Regions from separate parts of the Homo sapiens genome. Here region 1 is linked to region 2. The links are contacts of gene promoters, found by promoter capture Hi-C in human tissues and cell types (Jung and others, 2019). All regions are on one chromosome and are shown on one strand. Each heading gives the region's core, a stretch centred on a gene start or on the middle of the fragment in contact. The rest is flanking DNA. Distances are from core to core; before and after follow the strand shown.

Region 1 (5,655 bases), core at 2,588-5,087, 140 kb before region 2:
CACAACAGGGGCTACCTATCATGATGACTGCAGTATGTATGGCATCCCCTGGAGTTAGAGCAGTTCTGTCCTCATCGGTCACCACTCTCTGCCTCAAACCTCAGTTCCAGCAACTCCAAACTACCTTCAGTTCTCAGCACACGTCATGGTGCCTTCCGCAGTTCCCTCTCCCTGCTACACCACTATCCCTTGATCTCCCTTCCCCTGCCCCAACCTTCCTCTGACTATTGCCTACTCATCCTTCAACATTCAGCTGAGTGTCCTCCCCACCCAGGTTCAGAGCCCCTCTGCGTTACTCCCATAATGCCTTATTACTGCACTCACTACACTGTATTGTACCTATCTGCTGTGAACCTCAAACTACTGTCTTACTAGACTCCAAGCTTTCTTGGGGGCTGAGGGGAGAAATTGTATCTTATCTATCTTATTTTATGCCCAATGTCTTTCACAATACCAGACAAATGATAAACGGGCAATGTTTGATGCATGAACAAAGAAACAAACGAACTGGGAAGGAAAACTAAAAGGAATGTCACATGCAGATGGTATAGGCCACCTTTGTTTCTCCCCCACACTCCAGCTGCCACACATACTACATCTATAGTTCAGTGAAATCATGTCAATAAACACCAAGGGTGAATGGTAACCTTTGAGCTAGGGAAAATAAATTGCCTGGGGAAGAAGCCTGTTGTCTGGTAGGCAAGAAAAGCCTTCCTTAGTGATGGTGGAGAGGAGAGTAAGGTTGGGGTGTAAGGTCGACTGGGGGCAGGATAGTCAGGAAAGAAGTCTCGAGGCGAGCAGGACTTGAGGGGCCAGTGGGGAGGAGGCTGGGTTTGGTGGGCAGATGGAGACCAAGCTGTCACACACCTGTGGCTCCACCGAGACAAGAAAGAGCCTGTGGCCTGGCCAGAGAGGGAGAAGAGGATTTGAGATGGAAATCTGAGTATGAGGTGTATGAGAGCAGTGGGAGAGCTCCAGCTGAAGGGGACTGAGACACAGAGGGACCCAGAGGGCAGAAGGAGGTGGCGCCCCTCCGCCCCCTTCTCCCACTCCCCCGGACTGTGCCCAAGGTGTCCAGAGCTGCCTCAAGCCCGGTGGTCTAAGCAGGAGACTTGGTGACGCTCCTTCAGGGACTGGCTTCAGGAAGTTAACTGGGCCTGATAATCTGGCGGAAATTTCTGTTTGTTTAGAGAAGATGATTAAAATTGCCTAGTCACTGGATTTGAATACTCAAGAATGAGTTTAATTGAGAAGAGAATGTTTCTTTTTAGATGAGGCAATAACCACCATTGCTGGGTTTGTTTGCACCAAGGGGAAGAACTTAAATATCTGAAATGTAACATGTCCTAAGATGATGGCCGGGGTGGGAGCCAGGGCTGACATGAAGTGTAAGGATTGAACCTTACCCTGAAACCTCCATTAAAGAGGTCACTTAGCACGGATTAAAATCCAGGCATTCACGTCAACATACCCTATTGAATCTGCCCTCTCTGGAGCCAGGAGCAGCCAGTTCAGGACTTTCACTGGCCTGGCACCTGGCTCTGGTCTCACTTTACTTCCCATCGCAGTCTGTCGGTCCAGAGGCAGCACTGTGCGACTGCAAGTGTTTGGGCTGTGTGCGCATGTGCAGGTGCGGGTGTGCGCATGCACATCGCTGGCTGTGCGCGGTCTTGCAGCGTGCTTAGGCAAACCTCGCCCCCACCTGGGTCCGGGGCCTCAGCATGGTGAAACTGATGCTGTGCGAACACGTGTTTGATTCAGTTTAAATGGAGGTGGTGCGGACGAATCAAAGTTTTGCATCAATACGGTAGAACTTGCATAATCCAAGACCACCTGTTTCTTTTCTCTGCCTTCCCCATCCAAATCATCCCCAAATCATCCGTGAGAAGCCTCTGCTCCCATCAGTGTCATCCCTGGGGGACCCCATCAGAGAAGGGTGTGGGAGAAGCAGGTGCAGGTCACAGTCCTCCCTAGTCCATCTGCCTCAGAAACTATTCCTGGGGTCGGCGGCGTGAGGGACCCACCACCACGTGTCGTGGGCATTTGCCCCAGCACAGAGTTCACACCCCGTCCCCCAGGACCCCCTTGTGCGGGGGTCTGGGCAATGCATGGACTGGGCCACAGCCCGTGCCCCAAGCGAATGGACTGCATTCTGAGGCACCTGCTCTATTTCTGCCCAGGCCAGGAGCTGTGGATCCAAGCACTGGGCATGGCCACAGCGAACTTCCCTGAACAAGTAGTACTCTTCCAGCTGATGAGTGCACTGGCATTTATTATGGTCGGGCCAGTGCTGGAAGTGGAGATGTCTATAAGATGATTATGAGGACAGGATGGAACTCATACTCTAAGAAAACAAAGAAGTCCATGGAAACGTATATCATGGGTATCTTCAAAAACGACTTGCGTGGCGAGATCTTCAATGTGGCCATCCTTGGCTACCTCAGACCCGAAAGAACTTTGCTTCTTTAGAGTCACTTATTTCGGCAATTCAAGGTGATATTAAGGAAGCTAAGAAACGCCTACATTTACCAGAACATTTGAAACTTAAAGAAGACCATTTCTTCCAGGTTCCTAAAAGCAAAATAATGAACGGCCACTGATTAAAAAAAAAATCTTATTTATTCATTCACTGTATTCTAGTATTTCACTGCTTACAACTGTCCAGTCTCACCTTGGTTATAGTCTTAAAATCAAACATTTTCCCACAGCTGTGAACTAGTTTAAACAAAACAACACAGTTACTATATTGTGCTTCAATTGTTAAATTGTTAACAGGTTTTATTTATTTAAATACATAAAAAGCTTTATCTAAAAATAAAGATTTTCAAAATATGTTGATTAGAATGTACCACTAGAAGGGTATTAAGTGTCTTATAATGGAAATGAAATGTATATAAGTATGGGTTAAAAGGCAAGCCACTAATTTGAGATGAGAACTATAGTTCTCATGGCAAAAACCTTCATGTATGTACTTGCATAGCATATAGTCCTAAACAGAGAAGGCTTATAAAAGTAAATACATTAAATAGGAGTTGTATAGTTTATTATAAACCTAAGGGGAAAACTCCAGACTTTGTATTTGTGATATATGATGCATTAATATATTATTATAAGCATGAAGACATTTGTGAAACTTTTTTTGTCATTTTCTTTTTTCTTTCTATTTATTTATTTATTTTTATTTTTATTTATTTGTTTATTTTTTTGAGACAGGGTCTTGCCCTGTCACCCAGGTTGGAATACAATGGTGATCAAGGTCTATTGCAGCCTTGACCTCCTGGGCTCAAGCAATTCTCTCACCTCAGCCTCCTGAGTAGTTGGGACTACAGGGTGAGCCACCGTGCTCAGCTCAATTTTAAAATATTTTTGTAGAGACAAGGTCTCCCTACGTTGCCTAGGCTGGTCTCAAACTCTTGGCTGAAGCAATCCTCCTGCCTCAGCCTCTTAAAATGCCAGGATTACAGGCCTGAGCCACTGCACCTGGCCTTTAGTCATTATCTGGGCAGTCACATCATTGCACCATTTTCATTTTTGTATAGAGCTGCTTCGGTTCTAAGTGGTCTAGACTCCCTCTGCATATCTTTATTGTTGTTAAGACAGTAAGATAGATGTTTTTTGAATCTATAGGTTCTCCTTTTTGTTGGATAACACTTCTTTCTTCTTCAGAGTAGATATTCTTGTAGATATCTATAAGACTTTAACATTTTTCTTGACTTTGATTTTTTTCCTTTTTTAGGAAAAACAAAGACACAACAGACTTCATCTTTAGGTTTCCTCAAGATTTAAGTGAACACATAGCCATTAGTTTATATGTACCAGTTTCTTAAAAAAACACACACATAAAATGCTTGTTTTCCCTCTAGCCTAACTATTTAAAGCCAATTAAACTATAAAATACTTAGAAAATTATTTATTCTTAATGTAACTATATGTTCCAGGACAAATCTAAACTGACGTAGTTGTATACACACAATGTAATTTAATGCTAGTCTAAGAATGCTTGTAGCTTGAGAGAAAGGCACAGATTTTGTTAAACAATCTTCATACTGTAGATTTTTTCCTCCTACTGACTGTGATTTTTGGCCACTTGAGTCTTTTTGTTGATATTGGCAGAATGTTGAAATCTTTGGATATTTAGGAAATTAAGATTACAGATTGCGTTGGGCCCCTTCAAACAGTATATTGCATTATAGTTCACTTTAGCAATAGATTTGGTGGTTGGTTTGGTGGAGGGATAGAAGTATACAGAAGGTAATTTTAAAAATAATTCACTATGGATCATTTTTTCCTAATCTGCATAAATGAATTTGAACTGACTTTAATAAAAATATTTTGAAAGTACATAGAAAAACATCTGAAGCAGTTGTTGGAGAAGAGGGAAACATGTATAAATTTAGTTGGATTGTGTTTTACTCTTTGGTGTATGAATTTATGGCAAACAATGCAGCTTGTGGCTTTTCATTTCTTTATAGAGCTATGTAGAAAATACTATTTTTCATATTAGAAATCCTGTACTTGAAAGAAGCCTCAATTATAAGTGGCTTCATGAAGCAAAGTTAAAAACAAACATAGAAAATGTGAAAATATTTGTGTTTGTTTGTCTGACTAGCTTGCTGTTAATTATGTTCTCTTTAAGTGTGTGAATGTTCTTTTATACTTTATAGCCACCTTACATTTTGTTAAATAGCCATTGCTTTTAAGATGGATGGTATGGTGCGTAGAGGTTAGTTAACTGTATCTACATTTTTCAAAGTTTTATATTAACTATTATAAGAAGTTACAAGGCCGGGCGCGATGGCCCACGCCTGTAATCCCAGCATTTTGGGAGGCCGACGCAGGTGGATCACGAGGTCAGGACATCGAGACCATCCTGGCTAACACAGTGAAACCCCGTCTCTACTAAAAATACAAAAAATTAGCCAGGCGTGGTGGCGTGCGCCTATAATCCCAGCTACTCAGGAGGCTGAGGCAGGAGAATCACTTGAACCCAGGAGGCAGAGGTTGCAGTGAGCCGAGATCAAGCCACTGTACTCCAGCCTGGGCAACAGAGCGAGACTCTGTCTCAAAAAAAAAAAAAAGAAGGAAAAAAAAAAGTTACAGTAGTGCCATTTTGATTAGTCTGAATGTTTTCAGGCCTTGAAATAAATTTTGACTAAGTAATTTTTTTTTTCAGAGCAGGAGTGGAAGTTTATTTTAAAAGCTTTAGGCCAGTAAGGAAAAAAAGGAAAGGAAAGAAGGAAAATGCAACTTGGAAGAGGGCCAAGCAGGCGACTCGAGAAACCAAGTGCACAGCTTAACATCTTGACTTGGGGTTTTATTTGTTGGCATACTTCCAGGATCTTATTGGGAAGCTGCTGATCAGTTTCAGGTGTTTTCTATCTATTAGGAGCCTACCTTTCCCTGGCACCAGCTGTGACTAATTATTACTTTAAACAAACTGTTAACAACCGCCTGGCCATCACCTGATGGTTGCCCAACATTTCTGGTGTGTGTGTGGTAGGGAGCCCTCTCCTGCCCTGCTCATACCTGACTAGCTACCTACTGTAACATTTACCCCTGCCTTAAGAGTCCAAGACCCCAAATCTTTGGTGGAAAGTGGATGAAGGTCAGTCTTCTGTAACTGTTTCCTGCTGACAGAGGGGCGGTGGTGGTTCT
Region 2 (5,769 bases), core at 2,080-4,579:
ATATGGGTGTCCACTGTACTAAACTAATTTTTTGTAAGGTTGAAAATGTTCATAATACATTAAAAGATAAAGAACCAAAAAACAAAAAACAAAAACAAACAAAAAATAGACAAATTGGACTTCATCAAAATTTTTTTTAAATGATGGACTAAAGGAATTCGGCAGTACACATTTCCTATTACCCAACAATTTCACTTCTAGCAATGCATCCTAAAGGACTACTCTCATAAAAACTAAAGAGAATGTGCTAGAAATGTTCATTTCAGCACTGTTTGAAATTTTTAAAATTGTGGGAAAAAACCTAAAGTCAAAATTAGAAGAGTTAAATAGACAATATTCATACCACGCAGTACCTAAAAAGGATGAAGACAAGCTCTACGTAACACTAACAAATAATAGACATGTTTGGTTTCAAAAAAGGCAGGTCAATAACAATTCATCAGCATGACATTATTAATGGAGACAAACAAACATAAACAGAGAGAAAGAGGTAAAGCCACAGAAAGGGGGTATAGAAAGTTTACTCTCCCCAAGTACTCTCCAAAATAGTACCTTATGTCCTAGAAGGAAGAGGGATGGGGAAGGGGAACTCAAAGAATTTTGCTTTATGCTACTGTTTGAATTTTTTTATGAGCATATATTTTGTACCCTTTGTATAATTAAAAATAACATAAACCAAATTACTGATAATTATGAGTTAAAGTACATATTCTACATTTCAAAGATTTCATAAAGTAAAATCCTTATTTTATTTTTTGTTTGTTTGTTTTTTGTTTTTTTTGAGATGGAGTTTCACTCTTGTCAACCAGGCTGGAGTGCAATGGCGCAATCTTGGCTCACTGCAACCTCCGCTTCCCAGGTTCAAGCGATTCTCCTGCCTCAGTCTCCCGAATAGCTGGGATTACAGGCAAGCGCCATCACACCCGGCTAATTTTTGTATTTTTAGTATAGACAGGGTTTCACCGTGTTGGCCAGGCTGGTCTGGAACTCCTGACCTCAGGTGATCCGCCCGCCTCAGCCTCCCAAAGTGCTGGGATTACAGGCGTAAGCCATCGCGCCCGGCCTATGTATGTTTTAAAATTATTTTCTAGAATTACTTTCAAGAATTGCTGAGAAAACATATTGTCTTTGTAACATTCATTGCAGACTGCTACCAATACTGTTTTTAAAGAAAATCTGCTACTTAATATGCAGTTTTAAACAGAGATACAAAATAAAGCTTCTGCTTTATTTAAAATAAAACACAAGTGAATTCCTGTGGTAGTCTAAGCCCTGTAAACTTTATCTTATAATTCACTTTATCGTCCCACTAAATAGGATATAATAGGTTAAGCCAAGTTCCTCTTTTTCTGTAAGACACCTAAATGTTTTAAATACCTTAGCATTTCCTAGAATCAGACAAATTCTAAGATTATACAACAAAAGTCTTCTCCCAAAAAACTACTAAAAACGTCCTGAGATATATCCCTATTCTTGCCTTGCTTGCAAGGAGGGAATGACGTAAGAGTCACTATATACAAAACTACATACAGAGTCACAACCCAGGAAGTGTTTCTTCATTCTTCCACTGAACCTTTTTTTTTTGAGATGGAGTCTCGCTCTGTCACCCAGGCTGGAGTGCAGTGGCGAGATCTGGGCTCACTGCAAGCTCCGCCTCCCGGGTTCACGCCATTCTCCTGCCTCAGCCTCCCGAGTAGCTGGGACTACAGGTGCCTGCCACCATGGCCGGCTAATTTTTTGTATTATTATTATTATTGTTTTAGTAGAGACGGGGTTTCACCATGTTAGCCAGGATGGTCTCGATCTCCTGACCTCGTGATCCGCCCGCCTCGGCCTCCCAAAGTGCTGGGATTACAGGCGTGAGCCACCGCGCCCGACCCCTTTTGCCTGTTTTAGAGTGAAAACATTTTCTTTACAAGACTAAAATAGGTTAAAAAAAATTGTGTTGGTTGAAAACTTTACTAAGATCATACATTTGCCTCTATACCACATTTCCCAAGCCTTTCTTAAATATTTTTGCAAAGCCCTGAAGGTGGTAGTTTTTTGGGAACACAAGAAATAAAGGGATTGTGTGCTTCCTTATAACAGGCACCAATCTACTTATATTAGCGGAAAAAATTTAAAAGCTCATAATACCGCACATTTGTGAGTTATGAATGACCACAGTGCAAACAGTAAAAATAAAGGTTAATAGGCCGGGCGAGGTGGCTCACGCCTGTAATACCAGCACTTTGGGAGCCCAAGGCGGGCGGATCACGAGGTCAGGAGATCGAGACCATGCTGGCTAACACGGTGAAACCCTGTCTCTACTAAAAACACAAAAAAATTAGCCGGGCGTGGTGGCAGGCGCCTGGAGTCCCAGCTACTCAGGAGGCTGAGGCAGGAGAATGGCGTGAACCCAGGAGGCGGAGCTTGCAGTGAGCCGAGATCGCGCCACTGCACTCCAGCCTGGGCGACAGAGCGAGACTCTGTCTCAAAAAAAAAAAATAAAATAAAATAAATAAATAAATAAAACATGCAAAAGGAAAGATCAAATGCTGCTTGGGTGAATGGCTGACTTCCAGAATTACCCTTTCCAGGAGAATTCCTCATTGTCTGCGGCTGCATTGTCCAACAGGTGAGCCACTAGCCACTTTGTAGTTACTGAGCGCTTAAATGTAACTAGTTCGAAGATGTGCCGTAAATGCAGCACACCAGATTTGAAAAGCTTAGTACGAACAAAAGAATGTAAAATATCTCATTCATTTGATATTATTACATGTTAAAATACCTTGGATTTATTGGGTTAAACAAAATGTCTTATTTCCATTAACTTCACCTATTTCTTACTTTTAGTTTAAAACTACATAAAGATTAGCTTGCCTTGTATTTTCACTGGACAGCGCTGGTCTAAGTAATTAATAAGACCCAGCTGACATTAGCATCTATTTCTTTCTCCTCTAGCGTTTCTCGAACTGGTTCTACAGTAGCCTGGGGCACCGTTAATTCTGCCAAGGCCTGGCGTGGGATCTTTCTGAATCCTAAGATCCTGGGTGTTGGGTAAGAGGATGATGAGTAAAGAACTGGCTAACTGGTCCCGTACCCACTGCGCATCTCGCAGAGCGGGCTCCCGAATCTCCTCCGGCAGAGCGTCCCCGAGCTTTTGCACGAAGCGGCCGCACAGTTGTAGCATTTCGGTCACAGCCCGCTTCGAGGTGCAGCGCACCCGAAAGTCTTCTCGGGGAGTGGCGGAGACCAAGGCCTGGCTCTCTGTGCCAGCCGCGAGCTCCTTGTCCCATGGAGGGTCAAGGACCACCAACTCAGGAGACCCCGCCATTTTTCGTCGGAACTGTGGGCGGGGCACTCTGGGAGCGGAAAAGCGGGTTCACACTGGTGTAACCAGCATGCATCCGGCTGGAAACTCAGGACGCTGCAGCTGAAACGTTCCGGCTCCGGCTCTGCTGGCCGGTCTAAAGCGGCAGCCGCCGGGGCGCAATGCGAGCGGCTGGCGTAGGCTTGGTGGACTGTCACTGCCACCTCTCCGCCCCGGACTTTGACCGCGTATGTGAGGGCGATACGGGACCAGAGGGAGCAGGGAGGCCCCCGTCCTTTCCCCTCGTGTTATCTTTGCTCTCCTCCCTTGGGACGAAACCCCATATCCCCCGCCCAGACCCTTGTTTATGGCCATATGACCTTGCCCCTCATTTCCCTATTCCCTATTTAACCTCAGACATACCGATTTTTTTTTCCTGATTCAGTAGCGGTAAGCTATCTCCACAAGGCTTTTGTTTGCTCTTCTGAGTTCCTGGAATCGTTCCCTCACTCCCCTTGGCTGGCCTGTTTTTCCCCTCGGGGCTCTCACCTCCTGGCTGAGATGCCACTCTTTGTGGGAAGCGGTCCTCGAAACGCGTTCAAATCGGGGAGAGGTCGGGCGCGGGCTCACGCCCGTAATCCCAGCACTTTGGGAGGCCGAGGCGGGCGCTGCGCATCTCCTGTGTCCAGGAGATCGTGACCAGCCTGGGCAACATGGTGAAACCTCGTCCCTACAAAAAAAAAAAAAAAGCCGGTGATTGTGGCGTTTGCCTGTGGTCCCAGCTACTCGGGAGGCTGAGGTGGGAGAATCGCTGGAGCCCAGGAGGTGGAGGTTGCAGTGAGCTGACATCAAGCCACTGCACTCCAGCCTGGGTAACAGTGAGACCCTGTCTCAAAAAAAAAAAAAAAAAAAAATTCACAAATGGGGGAGAGAGGCAAACAAACAAACAAAAATACATGGCCGAGTGTGGTTGCTCACACTTGTAATCCTAGCACTATGAGAGGCCGAAGTGGGTGGATCGCTTGAGCCCAGGAGTTTGAGACCAGCCTGGGCAATGTGGTGAGACCCCGTCTCAATTAAAATAATAATACACACGTAAAATCAGTTACAAACTGTTTTACCCATTACGTGGGAAACTAGAGACTAATAATAGAGGATTAAGGGGGGTTTTATTTCAGGGGGAAATCCTCCCAGGAGCTGACACTTAAGGCTGAAAAGACAAGGAGCCACCCAAGCAAGGGGGTGAGTGTATGCTGGTTAGGGAAACAGATAGGTTGCAGGCCCCCAGACAAGCTAGAATTTGGCACATTTCAGTTGCCAAAAAGCTAAGTGGAGCCTGATGAGCTAGAAAGAGAAAGGCATGAAACAAAACTGGGGAGGTTTGCAGGGGATAGATGAGGTGGGTCAGTAAGGAATTTGGATTGCATTTGAAGCACAATGCAGATTCATTAAAGGGCTTTTTTAAAATTTATTTTCATTTTTTTATTTTTTTAGATTGAGTCTGGCTGTGTCCCTCAGGCTGAAATGCAATAGCATGATCTCAGGTCATTGCAACCTCCACCTCCTGGGCTCAAAAAATTCTCCTGTCTCAGCCTCCCAAGTAGCTGGGATCACAGGTGTGTCCCACCACGCCTGGCTAATTTTTTGTATTTTTAATAGAGACAGAGTTTTGCCATGTTGTCCAGGCTGGTCTTGAACTTCTGGCCTCAAGTGATCAACCCTCCTTGGCCTCCCAAAGTCCTGGGATTACACAAAAATGGATAGGCATGATGCTATCCATTTTAACACCATTTTGCTGCTGTATGGCAAATGGGTGGAGGAGAAGAGTGGAAGCTACAAGACTAGTTAGGAGGCTTTTGCAGTATATAGGCAAGAGATGTTGGCTGTTGGTACTATGATGATAGCAGGTGAGTTTGAGATGAATACATGGATTCAAGATACATTTTAGAGAGAGAATCCACAGTAAGTACTGAAGAATTGGATGTGGATAGCAAGGGAAAGGGAGGAGTCAAGGATGACTCAGATTATTAGCTTGTGCTATAGGGAAGATGGTGGTGCTGGTTTACTGAGATAAGGGAAGACCAAGGTCTGAGGTGGAGGTGGGGAGGTCAGCAGAAGGAATAGGTTTGTGGGGAGAAAATAAAGATTTATGTTTGGGGCATATTGGGAAACCTAATCCCATCCAAATGAAGATGTCATAATTTTTAAACATGAGTCATGGGCTCAGGAGAGAATTACAAGCTAAAGATAAAAATTGGGGGCCGGGCGCAGTGGCTCATGCCTGTAATCTCAGCACTTTGGGAGGCCGAGGTGGGCAGATCATAAGGTTAGGAGATCGAGACCATCCTGGCTAACATGGTGAAACCCTGTCGCTACTAAAAGTACAAAAAAATTAGCTGGGCATGGCAGCATGTGCCTGTAGTCCCAGCTACTTGGGAGGCTGAGGCAGGAGAATGGTGTGAACCCGGGAGGCGGAG

What was found. Contacts are between HindIII fragments. The study calls those that stand out against the background at their distance.
Region 1: a fragment that was not itself captured here is called in contact with the fragment with the promoter of NSL1 in region 2 in 1 of the 25 tissues and cell types used here (aorta).

Annotation. Positions count from the first base shown.
Region 1 is chr1:212,645,159-212,650,813 of GRCh38, forward strand. All of the region lies in intron 2 of LINC02773 (long intergenic non-protein coding RNA 2773), which reads right to left. It also overlaps the pseudogene RFKP5. Among named protein-coding and RNA genes, the nearest start is that of LINC02773, 18 kb to the right of the region's middle. RefSeq lists an enhancer at 1,105-1,614. The HindIII fragment of the contact is 4,490 bases long and covers 1,593-5,655 here.
Region 2 is chr1:212,788,448-212,794,216 of GRCh38, forward strand. NSL1 (NSL1 component of MIS12 kinetochore complex) reads right to left here and starts at 3,330. Exons shown (of 6, transcript NM_015471.4): 1 at 3,083-3,330. The coding sequence starts at 3,316. It overlaps TATDN3 (TatD DNase domain containing 3), which reads left to right and starts at 3,447. Exons shown (of 10, transcript NM_001042552.3): 1 at 3,447-3,540. The coding sequence starts at 3,475. RefSeq lists enhancers at 2,003-2,781, 3,256-3,535, 5,670-5,769. The HindIII fragment of the contact is 11,895 bases long and covers 1,964-5,769 here.